5 separate regions of the Homo sapiens genome follow, and regions 1, 2, 3 and 4 are each linked to region 5. Evidence: promoter capture Hi-C in 16 types of primary human blood cells and fetal thymus (Javierre and others, 2016). All regions are on one chromosome and are shown on one strand. Each heading gives the region's core, a stretch centred on a gene start or on the middle of the fragment in contact. The rest is flanking DNA. Distances are from core to core; before and after follow the strand shown.

What was found. Contacts are between HindIII fragments. The CHiCAGO score rates a contact against its expected background, and 5 or more counts as called.
Region 1: a contact is called between a fragment that was not itself captured here and the fragment with the promoter of RAD1 in region 5, in 1 of 17 cell types (erythroblasts). The highest score is 7.1, in erythroblasts.
Region 2: a fragment that was not itself captured here is called in contact with the fragment with the promoter of RAD1 in region 5 in 2 of 17 cell types (naive CD8 T cells and monocytes); the score reaches 9.2 in naive CD8 T cells.
Region 3: a contact is called between the fragment with the promoter of CAPSL here and the fragment with the promoter of RAD1 in region 5, in 1 of 17 cell types (naive CD8 T cells). The highest score is 8.9, in naive CD8 T cells.
Region 4: a fragment that was not itself captured here is called in contact with the fragment with the promoter of RAD1 in region 5 in 1 of 17 cell types (naive CD8 T cells); the score reaches 5.4 in naive CD8 T cells.

Annotation. Positions count from the first base shown.
Region 1 is chr5:33,465,002-33,467,763 of GRCh38, reverse strand. It overlaps TARS1 (threonyl-tRNA synthetase 1), which reads right to left. Exons shown (of 19, transcript NM_152295.5): 18 at 779-893; 19 at 1-204. The coding sequence ends at 56. Among named protein-coding and RNA genes, the nearest start is that of TARS1, 25 kb to the right of the region's middle. The HindIII fragment of the contact is 2,178 bases long and covers 226-2,403 here.
Region 2 is chr5:36,236,996-36,239,709 of GRCh38, reverse strand. The region is part of intron 1 of NADK2 (NAD kinase 2, mitochondrial); the gene reads left to right. Among named protein-coding and RNA genes, the nearest start is that of NADK2, 3.6 kb to the left of the region's middle. The HindIII fragment of the contact is 3,457 bases long and covers 1-2,714 here.
Region 3 is chr5:35,937,336-35,940,035 of GRCh38, reverse strand. It overlaps CAPSL (calcyphosine like), which reads left to right and starts at 1,414. Exons shown (of 5, transcript NM_001042625.2): 1 at 1,414-1,495. CAPSL-DT (CAPSL divergent transcript) reads right to left here and starts at 1,235. Exons shown (of 2, transcript NR_104630.1): 1 at 1,112-1,235; 2 at 43-313. The HindIII fragment of the contact is 5,426 bases long and covers 1,045-2,700 here.
Region 4 is chr5:36,158,521-36,161,220 of GRCh38, reverse strand. All of the region lies in intron 2 of SKP2 (S-phase kinase associated protein 2), which reads right to left. Among named protein-coding and RNA genes, the nearest start is that of SKP2, 7.8 kb to the right of the region's middle. The HindIII fragment of the contact is 828 bases long and covers 894-1,721 here.
Region 5 is chr5:34,914,104-34,916,803 of GRCh38, reverse strand. RAD1 (RAD1 checkpoint DNA exonuclease) reads left to right here and starts at 1,300. Exons shown (of 6, transcript NM_002853.4): 1 at 1,300-1,388; 2 at 1,843-2,109. The coding sequence starts at 1,912. BRIX1 (biogenesis of ribosomes BRX1) reads right to left here and starts at 1,093. Exons shown (of 10, transcript NM_018321.4): 1 at 907-1,093. The coding sequence starts at 1,065. It also overlaps a transcript of TTC23L not described here. RefSeq lists enhancers at 505-1,110, 685-1,584, 1,605-1,664, 1,111-1,716. The HindIII fragment of the contact is 14,569 bases long and covers 1-2,700 here.

The DNA.
Region 1 (2,762 bases), core at 65-2,564, 1.4 Mb after region 5:
TTTACGGAAACGCTGTTCCTCCTTTTCCATGGAGCCAATCTGGGTAATTTTTTCATTAAAATTCTTCTTCTGCCTGTTTGCTGCGGAACTCTTTGAGCTGCTGTAGCCGCTCGATAGTTTCAGAAATGGTGCGTTCCCCGTGGACCTTATTGTCTCTTGTGCGGATATTAACAGTGCCACTGATTTTCTCTTTTTCACCAACAACTAAAACAAACACACAAAGCTTTGTCAGACTTAATCTAAAGATATGGAAGAATTCACACTGAACATCTGAAAAGAAATGATCCTAGGACCCAAAACCTACCCCATAGCTTCTGATACATTAAAAGGTACAAGTGACCATGTGTTGATATTTAAAAGAAACTCTTTGCAATATCTAAAACTACTGTGCTTATGGAGTCAATCTAGACAACGTAACAACCAAATAATAAAACCCCAAACATCATGAATATCTTTTTTCAAGTAATCCCACATAAGGCATTATCTTGAGAAAGTAATCCAATAGATGTGTTTAAAAGCAATGCGTCTTCATTCTTGTTATAATAGCAAAATATTTTCTCACAGACATCCATGATTTAAGTGAAAAAAAAAAAAACCCAGTATGTATGCATGAGCCTATTTTTATAGTTATTATATATTAAAATATATAATAGAAAAAAAATCAGGACTGGAAGGAACTAAATAAATTCTTGATTACAATTCACTTAAACCTGTCTCAAGGTTTCAGTAGATTTTCCTGAGGTGTGGCAAATTTTCTTTGGTAAGTTTCCATTCTTACCTAAAATGAAGTTATACTGTGCTAACTGTGCATTTCGAATCTTTTTATTCAATGTACAGCCTGGATCCAGATCAATGTCTGCCATGAATTTGGCATCGTGGAATTGTTGTCGTACCTATTGTAACAGAGATACAGAATTTGTCAGATCTAAAATCAGAATTATATTTTGATCTCACATGATTTTACTGAACACAGGGATCAGGACTTCTTGGATGAACTTCCAGGAATTTAAAGCTGGCAAAACTGTCTTAGATAATATTATTCACTGCCATTATTCCCCCCTCAAAAAGGCCAGCTCCTCTTTATTACCTCAGGTCATGTGTATTAAGTAAACAATGTTTTCAGTATTCTTTTCCAAAAAAGCAATAAACTAGATTACAATTTATTAATTTTACATTAACTAGATTAAACTTCCCATTAACCTGATAACATATTAACATGACAAAAAGACCTAAATGAACAATTTTATTTCACTATCATTTCATATGAACCTCAGATTACAGATGTGAAAAATATCACACGATCAACACCTGAAAGAAATGATCTTCAACTGAATAAATCTTAACTTCTGAGTATCAGAAAGTTTTTTTTTTTAATCAGGTTATCAGAGGCATTAGTCCCTTAACTTTAAAATAGAATAATATTTAATAGTCTAAAAGTAATTTAGATTAGAACAAATTAACAATGAGTATAAAAAATGTTTCTGTTCAGCCTGCTATGAGAGTTGGGCATTTTACATTCAAATCACCCCACACGTGGCAGAAAACTGTTTCCTTACAGTGGCCATTAACCCAAAGGAAGAACAGGAAAGTTGGAGGACGCTGGTGTTCCTTCCTCATCTCTGCCATAGAGACAGTACCATTGGGCTTTCACGCAAAGCCATGTGAGCAGTGACGGCCTATCCTCTTTTTGTAGACGCAGAAGTTACACTGTCTACTAGCAGAATCACCATCACAATTCCACCCAGACCTCTTAGAAGGGTCAGAGTTTCTGGAAATCCTGGTCAGAAAGCAGAATGAATTTTTCCAGGAAAACATCTTAAGTACAGCTGAAGGTGAAATAGTAACTATCATACTCTACTTAAGTATCATGAGTAAAACCAGCAATCTCTGGTTGACCTGGGTGACGAAATATTTCTTTCAATTTTTGATTGAAAAAGATTCTAAATGATCTACAACACATTCATTTCTCAAATGCGAGTTATGTGTAAACCAAGGGTTATTTATGTATGTCAAATGTTTATTTCTATAAGGCATACTTTTTGAAACAATCTAAGTGACTTTGCCTATACTGTGCACAAGTCTTAGCATTTTAACTAGATTTTTAAGCCACAGTGATCACGAACCAATTAACCTGTTGACATTTTATTACACCCATTTCAGAAGGGTTGTTACAGAATTTTAGAATGCCAAGATAGGTCTACATCTTCAACTTATAACTACTTTAAAGAATAAGGCATCAGTTTCTTCATTTTTCTCAACATGGGTCCTGTGTGTGCACGTGAGATGGGCAATTCTGCAGTTGGGGAAGTGGCCTGATAATTACAGGGTGTTTAACATGTCTGCTCTATAGTTATTAGGTATCAGGAGTACTGCCCTGTCTTCTCTCCCCGCAAAAGAAAAGCTTACCACCACATAATCTGGAATGCCACCTACCCGCAAAGGGAAATGGGGAAGTCAGTGCTGTCTCCAGTTGAGAACTCAGTTAACCAATACAGAACTTCTTCCTACTGTGTGAGTTTTCACATACAAATAAGACAAAGTGCACTCAACCATGGAACATAACTTTGATTGTCATCATTTGTAACTAAAACTACTGAGTGCAGTAACAGGAATAGTCTGAATGGTTTATCTATTAGATGGTTTAGTGTTCACTTCATTTTTTTTATTTATTTATTTGTTTTTATTTATTTATTTTTTTGAGATGGAGTCTTGCTCTGTCACCCAGGCTGGAGTGCAGTGGCATGATCTTGGCTCACTGCAAG
Region 2 (2,714 bases), core at 211-2,710, 1.3 Mb before region 5:
AGGCCTCAAGAAAATGGGTGGCATCTCAGTTAGGATTAACTCTTGGACCTCTGAACTAGATTACCACTTAATAAAAAAACTTTTAAAATGTAGGGAAAATCAATAAGTCTTAAAAAGTCAAACTACCTAAGTGTACCCGTTCTGAGTGGAGAAATCTCTAATAGGTAAATATTTGTCTATTGCTAGGTAATGCTGTTTGGGATAAGCCAGCTTTGAAGTAAAACTCGTGGGCTGTAGAATACACAGTTTTGTAATTGCCAGGCAGTGGAATAGTTTTTGTTGGTGGTGTTGTCATTACAGTTTTATTGGATAAGTTCCTTACTGATTTGAATTTGTGTTATAGTTTATATAAAGGCCCATACTCAGAATGCAATAGCATTAGTTGTAGACCAGATGAGAGATTATTAACAGGCCAAAGAATACTGGGCTGTGTGAAGCTGTCCTAAAATGGGATTCTGTAATAGGAGTGATAAGATGATAAGTATTATTTGTTATATTGCTGGGGTAGAAAATACTAAGTTATGTGAATCATGTGAATTGGATGGATATAAAAGAAAGTGGCCAAGTGCTTGAGTCTCACCATGGCTGCTGTGTCTATAGTGTCATGGTAACTTGGTTTTTTGTCAAAGCATTCTCTTTTGTTGTCGTGGTGGTGGTTTTTTGATGTAAAACAGGTCTGTTTTAGGCTATTTGTTAAAATGCAAATGGAAGATGAAGGATAGAGTGCCAGTATAATTTTATACCCTGAAGGCTGATGATTTTCTAACTTTGTAGAAATGTAAACAATTACAGGAAATATTTTTTAGTTGATAAGGCATGCACAGAATAGGTTTACAACCTTCAAGCTAGTCAAAGTTTTGACTTTTATTTACCGTTTCATATTGGTTACATTGCTTTATTTTAAAATCTTGTCTTTTTCCCCATTGATTGACCAGTGACTTATTTTGTGATATCAGATTTCTGGTCAAACATTTTACCTCTACTGTCTCATGACCTTTCAAAGGCCAGTAAAACTATTATTACAATTTACTTGCATCATTAAGAGATGTAGCTGTTGGCAAATGTGCAATTGCTATTAACAGGGTCCTTGACACAAATTAGAACTCTAGATGAAACAAAACTGACTTGGAAAGGATTTTGACACCAGAAACATACCTCATTGGTCAAAAAAAGGTTTTATTTAAAGCTCTTTTTCACCTGTCACCAGGGATGGGGAACTGAATAAGGAAAAAAAATTTTAATGTAGAACAAATAAGAAGTCAGCAGTTTCTGCCCTCCTCTCCATCATTCCAGGTCTCACAACTCGGCAACCCTTTTACTGGTTCCTATTTTTAGTTTTGTTTTTTAAAATTCATAATGGGATAGAATAATTTCATTTAACAGTCTGCCGTGTTATTGGATTAAACTAGATGACTTGGAAGGTGTAGCACCTTGGATTTCCCTTTTGTTTTCTGAAGATTTTGTGGCTTAGGTTGTAGCACTTGGGCAGATAATACTTTTGCCACAGGGTATGCAATAAGCGTACCATGGTATACTTTTGTCAGGTGGTATACTTTTGCTACATTGTATGCAATAAGTATATTACATACAATATGATTGTTAATCAAATTAAAGAGCATGATTTGGAGTACTGCCAGAGCTTTCTAACTGAATCCTTGCTCCTCTCAAATCTTCTAGACACAGTTACCAGAGTGTCTATCTAAAGTGAACATCTGGCCCTTTCTCTCTTTTGCTTGGAACTCCACAGAAGCTCCCTGTACCCTTTAGTCACCAAGAGTACTTGTTAAAATGCAGACACCTGAACCTTAGCCCCGCAAGACTCTGACTCAGTTTGTGGAGAATTCCCAGACTTTGGTTTTATGAAGCACACACCTGAAATTAATGACTCCGGCTGAATTCCAGGGATGTGTTTTATCCCTGGTTGGCATGTGGTCCCCAGTTAAACTGAGAAACACAGTTGTGGGCTCAAGTTCATGATCTTTAGAATGGCAGATAAGTCCCTTCATGAACTGGCTATCTCTTGAGCTTCACTTCTGATCACTTCTTGTCTTAAATTTCATATTCTAGCAATTTCAAACTGTGTTAATTTCCATTAGATGTTGTACTGATTTAGTTTAATTTATGGATCAGTAGCACATAAAATGATTCAAAATATAAAAGATACAAAATATTATACAAAGAAGTCTTTCTGTTACTTGTCATTTGTCATTCAGTTTTGTCCCTGGAAGTAACTGTTATCAATTTCTTGTGTTTTCTTCCAGAAGCAACCTATACCTACAAATCAGCACAGTGAAATATTCTTTTTCTTTGCCTCATCTCTTTTTATTCAATGATAATATACTATTTAAGCTATTATGTGCCTTTTTTTTTAGCCTAACAGCATTTGTGGAGATTGTCATAAAGAACATTCCCATTCTTTTTAAAAATAGTATGTATGTTACTTTATTTTGTGTCCTAATTTATCTTCTGCTATTAAACACATTCTGAAATGAATAACATTTGTGTTTATATGCATGTAAATCAAGCTCTAAGACAAATACCTAAAGTTGAAATTGTTGAGTCAAAAGCCTTGTGCATATAAAGTTTTAACAGATTTGGCCAAATTGCTTCCCTTAGAGATTATACAGATTTTTACTTTCACCAGCCCTGTATAAGGGGACTTATTTTTCCATACATAGTTCATTAAATTGTTGGGTCTTTGCCAACCTGGTGGG
Region 3 (2,700 bases), core at 165-2,664, 1.0 Mb before region 5:
GCAGTGGAAACAAGCAAAAGCATTGCTTAAGTACTCCAGAGATTTTGTTCTTTTTACTTTATTTGACACAACCTGGAGGCAGACTATTGAGGGCTTGCACGGTGGCTCCATCATGCTGTCCGTTGTCCCAATTTTCCTGTTTCTTTTTTATCTTTTCTTAAATTATTGCACCAAACTTACTCTCCAGTAGGTGGCTTTCAAGAAATACTTCATATTTAAATGCCCATGCCCTCATATTTGCTTCTGCATTCACAGATGAAATTAAGTTTCTTCTTAAAAGTTTCAAATGCGTGATATCTTGTGGGTTAAACCACTGAAAAGAAAACATTAGACATCTGAGGTTGCCCTGGAAGAACCACAGTTCTAATTGCTTAATTCTGGGACAATTCTTCAGACAATTCAGATAAAAGGATGAAATAGCTACTATGTATACTCCCTGCAGATATAGCAAAGGACCCAAGCCCTTGTCAAATCCATGAAAGAACTTGCCTAGTAGTCTGCAGAGCTGGGTGCCTGGCATCTATTCCGTTTTGTGAGTTCTTATACTGCAAGGATGTTGCACACAGCCAGGATTATGTTATATACAGAGATGTGTGTGTGTGTGTGTGTGTGTGTGTGTGTGTGTGTGTGTGTGTGTGTCAGAGAGAGAGAGAGAAAGAGAGAGGTGTAAGGTCTGAATCACCACTAATTATACCTGCCTGCTCCTGAAAGCAGGACGTGCAGGAGTGGGAATGACAAGGATAGGGTGGATGTCATAGATACACAATGAAAGAGAGCATAGTGTAGATATTTTCCTCCAAATAAGCCACTAGATTTCTTCTTATCTGGCAAAGTAACTGCTAGGGAACATGTGAAAAACATAAGTAAAAAGAAACAAAAAGAGAAAAGAAGAGAAGAAACCAAGGATGAAAACAGCAGAAATGACATCCTCTGCAAATGCAGAGAAGGAGGGAGAACCTTGAATCACCTATAATTACCCCTGCCTGCTCCCAAGAGTTGTGGTTTTAAGTATCACCTGGCAATGAGGCACCCTAGCAGTAAGCTTTCTGGGGACTACAGAAGGACAGGAAGGTGCTGCCTAAAAGAAAGAAGACAATGTGCTGAATACTACCTTACAAAACATGGGAGACAAGTTTTGATGCTGTTCTAGAAACCAAACCATTGCCAGCAAAACTTCTGGCTGGCTTCTCTCCCAGTGCAAATGGCTTGAGCTTTCACAGTCACTGAGATTTCCTAGGCAACAGGAGTGTAAACTTGAGAAAAGGCAGAACCAGAGTAGAGATTGACAGTGAGCTGAGCCAATCAGGCTGTGAATCTGCAGCAGTGATCCCAGGTCCTCCAATTAATACTAAGAGAGTGGACCAGGGCCCCTGAGGAAGACAGGTAAGAGGGAGGAGGCTAAGGTGGCTTGGGAGGGACCAGTTTTCCTAGATGCAGGAGACAGCGTCCATAGTTTCAGTTCGAAGCAACTGGTGGCAAAAGGTTAGCATTTAAGGTAAATCAATGTTTTTATCTATTCTATGATTTAATGTTTTTTTTTTTCTTGGTATGTCTTAGCTGAGAAAAGAAGACAGTAGATGTTACTCTCTAAAAAGAAAATCTAAAAGTCTTTTGAGAGTTCTTGGACTAGAGAAGCCATCACTAGGCTGTCAGTGCAAGAGGAAAGAGCTTGGTACTGGGAAAGATTTTTGTAATCTTTGCAAAAAAAATGCTTAGATAAAAATGCACAAAAATAAATTTCATTCAGTAAAGGGGAAGGAAGTAAACATTACTGAGCAGTCATTAGGTACTAGGTATTTGAGTGTGAAGGGTTTGGGTGAATTGCTCTAACGATCCTGATGACCACTGATAAAACTGAGCTTCAGGGAGGTTCAGCATTTCCAAGTCACAAAGCAATAAAACATTTCAACTTTCATTCAGACCTTGCTTTGTCTGATACTTAAACTTATGCTATTTCTGCTATACACTGACAACTGAGAATCAGAATAAAAATCAGGATGCTTATTAAAGTGTACATACATGGCTTGTTCAAAATTATATCAAATAGTTGATTTGATTCATCAGAGACTTGAGGGGGTCCTTTACGTTCTCATTAAAGGACAACACCAATGACCCAGGCAGCCATCTCTATTGCCTTCAGTCTGGGGAGTATTTAAACCATATTAAGTAGATGAAATTCTTACCTGTTTTTTTTTTTTGACTTATTTTTTCCTCAAATCCTACAACCACAAAAATCTATTTTGTTATTGAAAGTTTTAAATATTGAGATTTGAATTTCAGGCATACATTTGTATTTATATTCTGATAAAAATTACCCAATAGCAATGACAATGATAAATTCTAATAGCAATAAAATAGCCTCCTGCTAAGCCCTGATGATATGGTGATAGTAAATGCAAAGGATACAGCTCTACCTCGTAAGGACCTTATAGTCTGTCTAGCAGGGCAAGTAATTCGAAAACGAATTACATTGTCTTGCAATGTGAATGCTATTTGGACTTCACCACATGATCATGGAAGGATGGGTGGGACTTCTCTGGGCCAACAGGAAAAAGAAGGTGTACCTGCAAGTGTGACTACATGTACAAAGGCACAGAGATACAGAATGCTATGGTGTGTTTGGGGAATGTGAGTGAGTAGAGATGCAGGATAGATTTTGAACGGATGGAGAATTACTAGAAATGGCTGGAGACATAGGAA
Region 4 (2,700 bases), core at 58-2,557, 1.2 Mb before region 5:
ACTATACACTGAGGTCTATTCTAGGTTTTAAGGACACAATGATAAATAAGGCACAATCCTGACCCTTATTCTGCTCAGAGTTTGAGAGATATAGACAAACAGGAAACTTCAATAACCTATCCTGATGGGCTACAGTAGGATTCGGGGTGCTGTGCAGCTTATGGGAATGGCGCAGGGGTTAGGGAAGCCTTTCTGGAGGAAGTGGCCTCTCTTGAAGAATGAGTAGGAGATACACAGTTGTTCAATGAATGCCTGTTCCCCTAGCCTCACGCCCTTCAGGGGACAAAATTAAAGGACTGACTGAGGCCCTGAAAGCTAGGGGTAGAAAGCTGAAGGCAGATCACCCCTGCTGATCTGGGGAGGCAGCTGGAGGTTGTGAGGAGGCTCCTCGACGTGGCAGCTGTTCCATCACTGCCACAAAGTTCCTCCAAAGTCAACATGGGCAGGGGACAAAGGTTCTCAAACCAGGCTCTTGCCCTGCTCCCCAAATTGAAAACAAAGTTGAATGACAGGCTTTTCTCAAGTTTTTCTCCCATTAATCCAACTCTCTCAGACCTCTGCTGCCTCTTACATATCTAGATCAGAATCTAGTAATTGATTGGGCATAACTATATTTAGCTATAAGTATAGTCATCCACTCACGTATTTATTAACCATGTACTATATACACTGAGGTCTGTTCTAGGTTTTGGGCCACAACAATAAGTAAGGTACAATCCTGACCCTTATTCTACTCTGAGTTTGAGAGATACAGACAAACAATTAAACAGGAAATTTCAATAAACTATCCTGATGGGCTACAGCAGGATTCAGGGTGCTGTGCAGCACATGGGAATGGTGCAGAGGTTAAGGAAGCCTTCCTGGAGGAAGTGGCCTCTATGGAAGAGTAAGCTTAACTATACTTCAATAACATACTTAGCTATTTTGAATCTAATATGTTGAGATTTTACTATAATCTGTAAAAATCATACTGACACCATACGCTGGGCCTCCTCAACACATTTGAGGACTACTGGACTGAGAAAGCAGCACAGTTTCTATCAGAATCCTGGCTGTGTTGCCCCAAGTCTGTGAACTTGGGCAAGTTACTTAATCTTTCTGGCCTCAGTTTCTTTACCTGCAGGAAAGGAAATTGACAGATTTATCTTGCAAAATTGTTCAGTGAAGAGTAAATGAGGTACAAGAAAAGATTAAATAATGCAGCAGGGAGTAAAACTTTCTTTTCTATATTCCTCTCCTTTCCCAGTTAAGTCTGGGTATTTTCTTCATGCAATGACCTTTTCAGTGCTGCTCTGAATTTTCACCCATGGGCAGACACTGGACAAGGTCTGCATGGTATGACTTACCAAAACCCCGTATCTGCCCTTTATTTAAGTTTGGGTCCCCCAGAAGCAGATTCTGAAGCTCTGACTTCAAGTAGTTTATTTGGGAAGTGATGCCAGGAAGCACTAGAAAGAGTGGAGAAGACAGAGGTGGAAGGGAAGAAAGCCAACCTGGAGTAGGCTAATAGGCAGGTTATCCCTATGGGCAATTGGGGTTCAAATCTTCTGGGGACTCCAGTAAACCATCTAGAAACTACCCCAGAGCTGTCTCAACCAAGGGCACGAGTGCTGGGGTATTAATCCATCAATTGCTGTTGGTCACTATTTGGGGACTCCCCAGTATTCCTGCCCAGAGAAAGCCCTCAGGCATGGAATCTCATCTACACGTAGGCAAAAGCTTTGGCATGTAAGGGAATGGGGGGCTTCAAGGGGCTATAGATAGGGCACCAACAGAAATTATGGCTGGGGAAAGGAAATTAGAAAAGCTTGCTATGAAGTACAGGGCAGGAGAAATAAATTAACAAACTTGGTGCTTTCTATTAGGAAGACATAAGAAATCAGGACCAATTAAAAGAGCAGTAGCAGCCAGGTAATTAAAGTGCTAGAGGAAAATCTGGCATAGTGATGAATGCAGAGGTCAGTAGACCTAACCAATGAAGACTGCATGTGAGACTCCAAAGTCTGGAGGACTTTGTGTTGCAACTTCCATCTTTGCCTTCCCAACTCCTCCAGATTTCAGCTTAAATGGCACCTGCTCAAAGAAGCATTCCCACCCAGGATACCACCACAGGCCCCATGCCCAGATTTGCACATCCATTACCTAACAATGCCTGGCACATAACAGGACTCTATAAATATTTGCCAAATGTATTTATTAGCCCTCTTCATTCAAATGGTGAATGTGCTAATTCTTTATTAGTGTGAATGGCTAACCCTTATTAACCAATTAACGACTATGTGCACAGCACTGTTGGCATATGGAGGGGATGAGGCTGAAGACAAAAACCCAGAGCAGAAGGGAATGTCCTCTATCAGTATAGCTGTAGTCTCTGGGAGATGGGGGCTGGGGCTTCAAGAAAACATGCAACTATGATAAAAGAGACAAGGTCACACAATCAGTAAGTGGCAGAGGGGGAATTTAAACTCAGGTCTGATTTCAAATCATGCCCTTTCCATCCTAGTGGGTTCTAATATTCTATGCTCTCCTCTGTTGTAAGTACAAATTTTGAAAAGGTGAGAATTAAACCCGGACTTGCTATGGAAACAGAAATCAATCAGGGCTAGGGAGTGAGTGGAGGAGGAGAGAGAAAATAAAACAAAGATGCTATCAATGGGTTCACCACCAAATGGAAGGAGCAAGGTCCTAGAAAACACACAT
Region 5 (2,700 bases), core at 51-2,550:
TTATCTTTCATTCCACAGAGCTCACTTCTTTCTTAGAGCTTGCCATCACACCACACGGGGTCATTTACTTATCACCTACTCCGCGCTAGAGTACTATGCTAAGTGCGGAGGACGCAAAAATTAATGTCAAAGATAATCCTTGTTCACAGTATTCTGTCTAGCTTAAGAAGAGTTCTTAGTTGAATGAAAGCTAATTCTAACAACTTGTGTGCACTTCTTTTGAATAAAAACCATCAACTTATTTGAATTCTTAAGTTTCCTCCTAAACTCCAACATTTCAGGAGGAAGAGGTCACATTCTAGTCATCTTTGCAATCTCAAACCCAAAGGAAGCCTAACTTGGTACAGTGCATGGCACATTCAATGTCTGTTGAATACAAGTAAAGCTCATACTACCTAGTCTATTTTTCAGTATCTCTTGAGTTAATGACCTGGTTAACAAGTCAGAGTCACAGTCCCAAGGGCAACAACTTTTTAAAGGCTCCCCTAACGTACTTCAGGATCCCTGACTGAGAGTGGCTGACTATGGCAGTATATGGGCATACTAATCACTGGAGAAATAATAGCGAGAAATAACCAAGGAAAAGCACTACTCTCCAAAAACATTAAAAAAAAAAAACAACTGAACAACTAGTAAGAAAGAACGCTGGATCTGAGCACCCTGTAAGTCGCTTCCCCGTGGGCCGGGTAAAGGTTTTAAAACCCGCCGCCTCCAGGAAGACGGCCACGTGCACAAGGATTAGCTGCAAACTCCGTGCCCAGTCTGGCCGGGAGAATTGCTAAAACCGACCTACCGTTAACACCCGGGCTACTCTGAAATTAAGCAAGGCTGTAGTCAAGTAAGTAACCCAAGAAAAGGCGCACAGAGCCGCCGCCGCAGGTGTAGCCCGGGGACATCCCCTCCTACCTTGCAAACGGGGCCTGGGATCCGGTCCCTCTCTTCTTCCTCCACCTCCTCTGCTGTGGCGTGCCGCTTAGCTGGCGGCTCCGCATCTATTTCGTTTCTTTTTGGCTTCTTCGCCTGAACTGCAAAGCCTCCACGCCGTTTCCTCTTGGTTGCCGCCATCTTGCCTCGCCGCCCGCGCTCTTGGCCTCCTTTCCGGCGCTGCCGCTCGCTCCTATTTCCGATCTCTATGGTTCGGCGGCTCTAAGCGCTCAGCTCCGCGGTCGTCCTCCAGGTCTGTGCCGCCTCCTTCCGGTCTCGGTGGCGCGGCACGCGCGGCTCTCTAGGCCTCCTTCAGCTCTGTGGTGACGGTGGCCGAGGTGGAGGGCCGGTCTGAAGAGTGGCGGGACTGGCTTCACTTCCTCCGCGGTTCCTCGGAGCCGCCTCGCTCCTCTTCAGGGACTTTGCTGAGAAGGGCTCTCGGGCGTCCAGACCCCACCGCAAAGGTAGGGTTTCCGCACTCGGGGACCCCGAGACTAGTAAGCGATGCTGTCCCGCGGGCGGGCTGGTGAATGGGGTTGTCTGGGACTCTTGGAGGATTATCTGGACACTCCGGGCCCGCCCCGCCATCGCCTGTTTTGTTGGAGGCGGGGCTGGTGGCGCGGGCTGCACAAAACCGACTCCCCGCGGATTTGTAGCTCCTGTTTGGCCGGGAGATACCGTGTCAGTTGCGTGTCTTCATTCTTCACAACTTTTCACGTTATTGTCCTCTTACGGAGACGAGGAAACCGTAGCTTAGATAATTTTCCTCCAGAATTACAAAGATAGTTAAGTGACATAGGTGGGGTTCGGCCTGGTCAGCCGTGTTCAGCCTCCCAGCCCCTTTCCACCTCTCAGCGCAGGTGGAGCTCGCCGGACCTCGCCAGCACTGATGGGAGTTTTACTGTCTAATCCCTTCAGGTGTTTGGCGATCCGCCGAGAAGTTGTTGGCCCCAGGAGCATCCCTCGGGGCCGAATGCGCAGTGGACGATGCCCCTTCTGACCCAACAGATCCAAGACGAGGATGATCAGTACAGCCTTGTGGCCAGCCTTGACAACGTTAGGAATCTCTCCACTATCTTGAAAGCTATTCATTTCCGAGAACATGCCACGTGTTTCGCAACTAAAAATGGTATCAAAGTAACAGTGGAAAATGCAAAGTGTGTGCAAGCAAATGCTTTTATTCAGGTATGGAAGTAGGCGCCTTTAAGCCTGTGCCATAGATACTCTAAATGTAATTTAATGAAATCGGAAGGTTTCAGTAGACAAAATAACTTAATAGTCATAATAACTTGTCAATAGTCATAATAAATAACTTAATAAATAAATAATAGTCTTAAGTTAGAGAACAAAACGTCATTACTTGAATTTTTTTTCTCTCCCGGTAACAAATTCTTTTCCCATCTTGTTTTACAGAGATAATGGTTAGTAATGACTAAAGTTTATTAAACTAGGCTATTGGCTAGGCTACAGTCTTCTTATTGTTTAACTTATTTAATCTTAACAATAGTCCTGTAAGGTAGGTTCTGTTATTATTCCCGTTTTATATATGTGGAAACGAGGCACAATTTTAAGTGATTTGCCAACAGTCCCACAGCTGGTAAGTGGCTGAATTGGGATAAGAACGCTGAATATTTGTTTCCAGAATATATGCTCTTTTTTCCACTGCGATATGCTATTACTAAAGAGTATTTTTTTCCTTTACTGGTTGTAATAGAATTTTTGTTCTTCCAAAGTAATATTTGTGTGGTTCAGATAGGATTGCAAGTTCAACTAAGC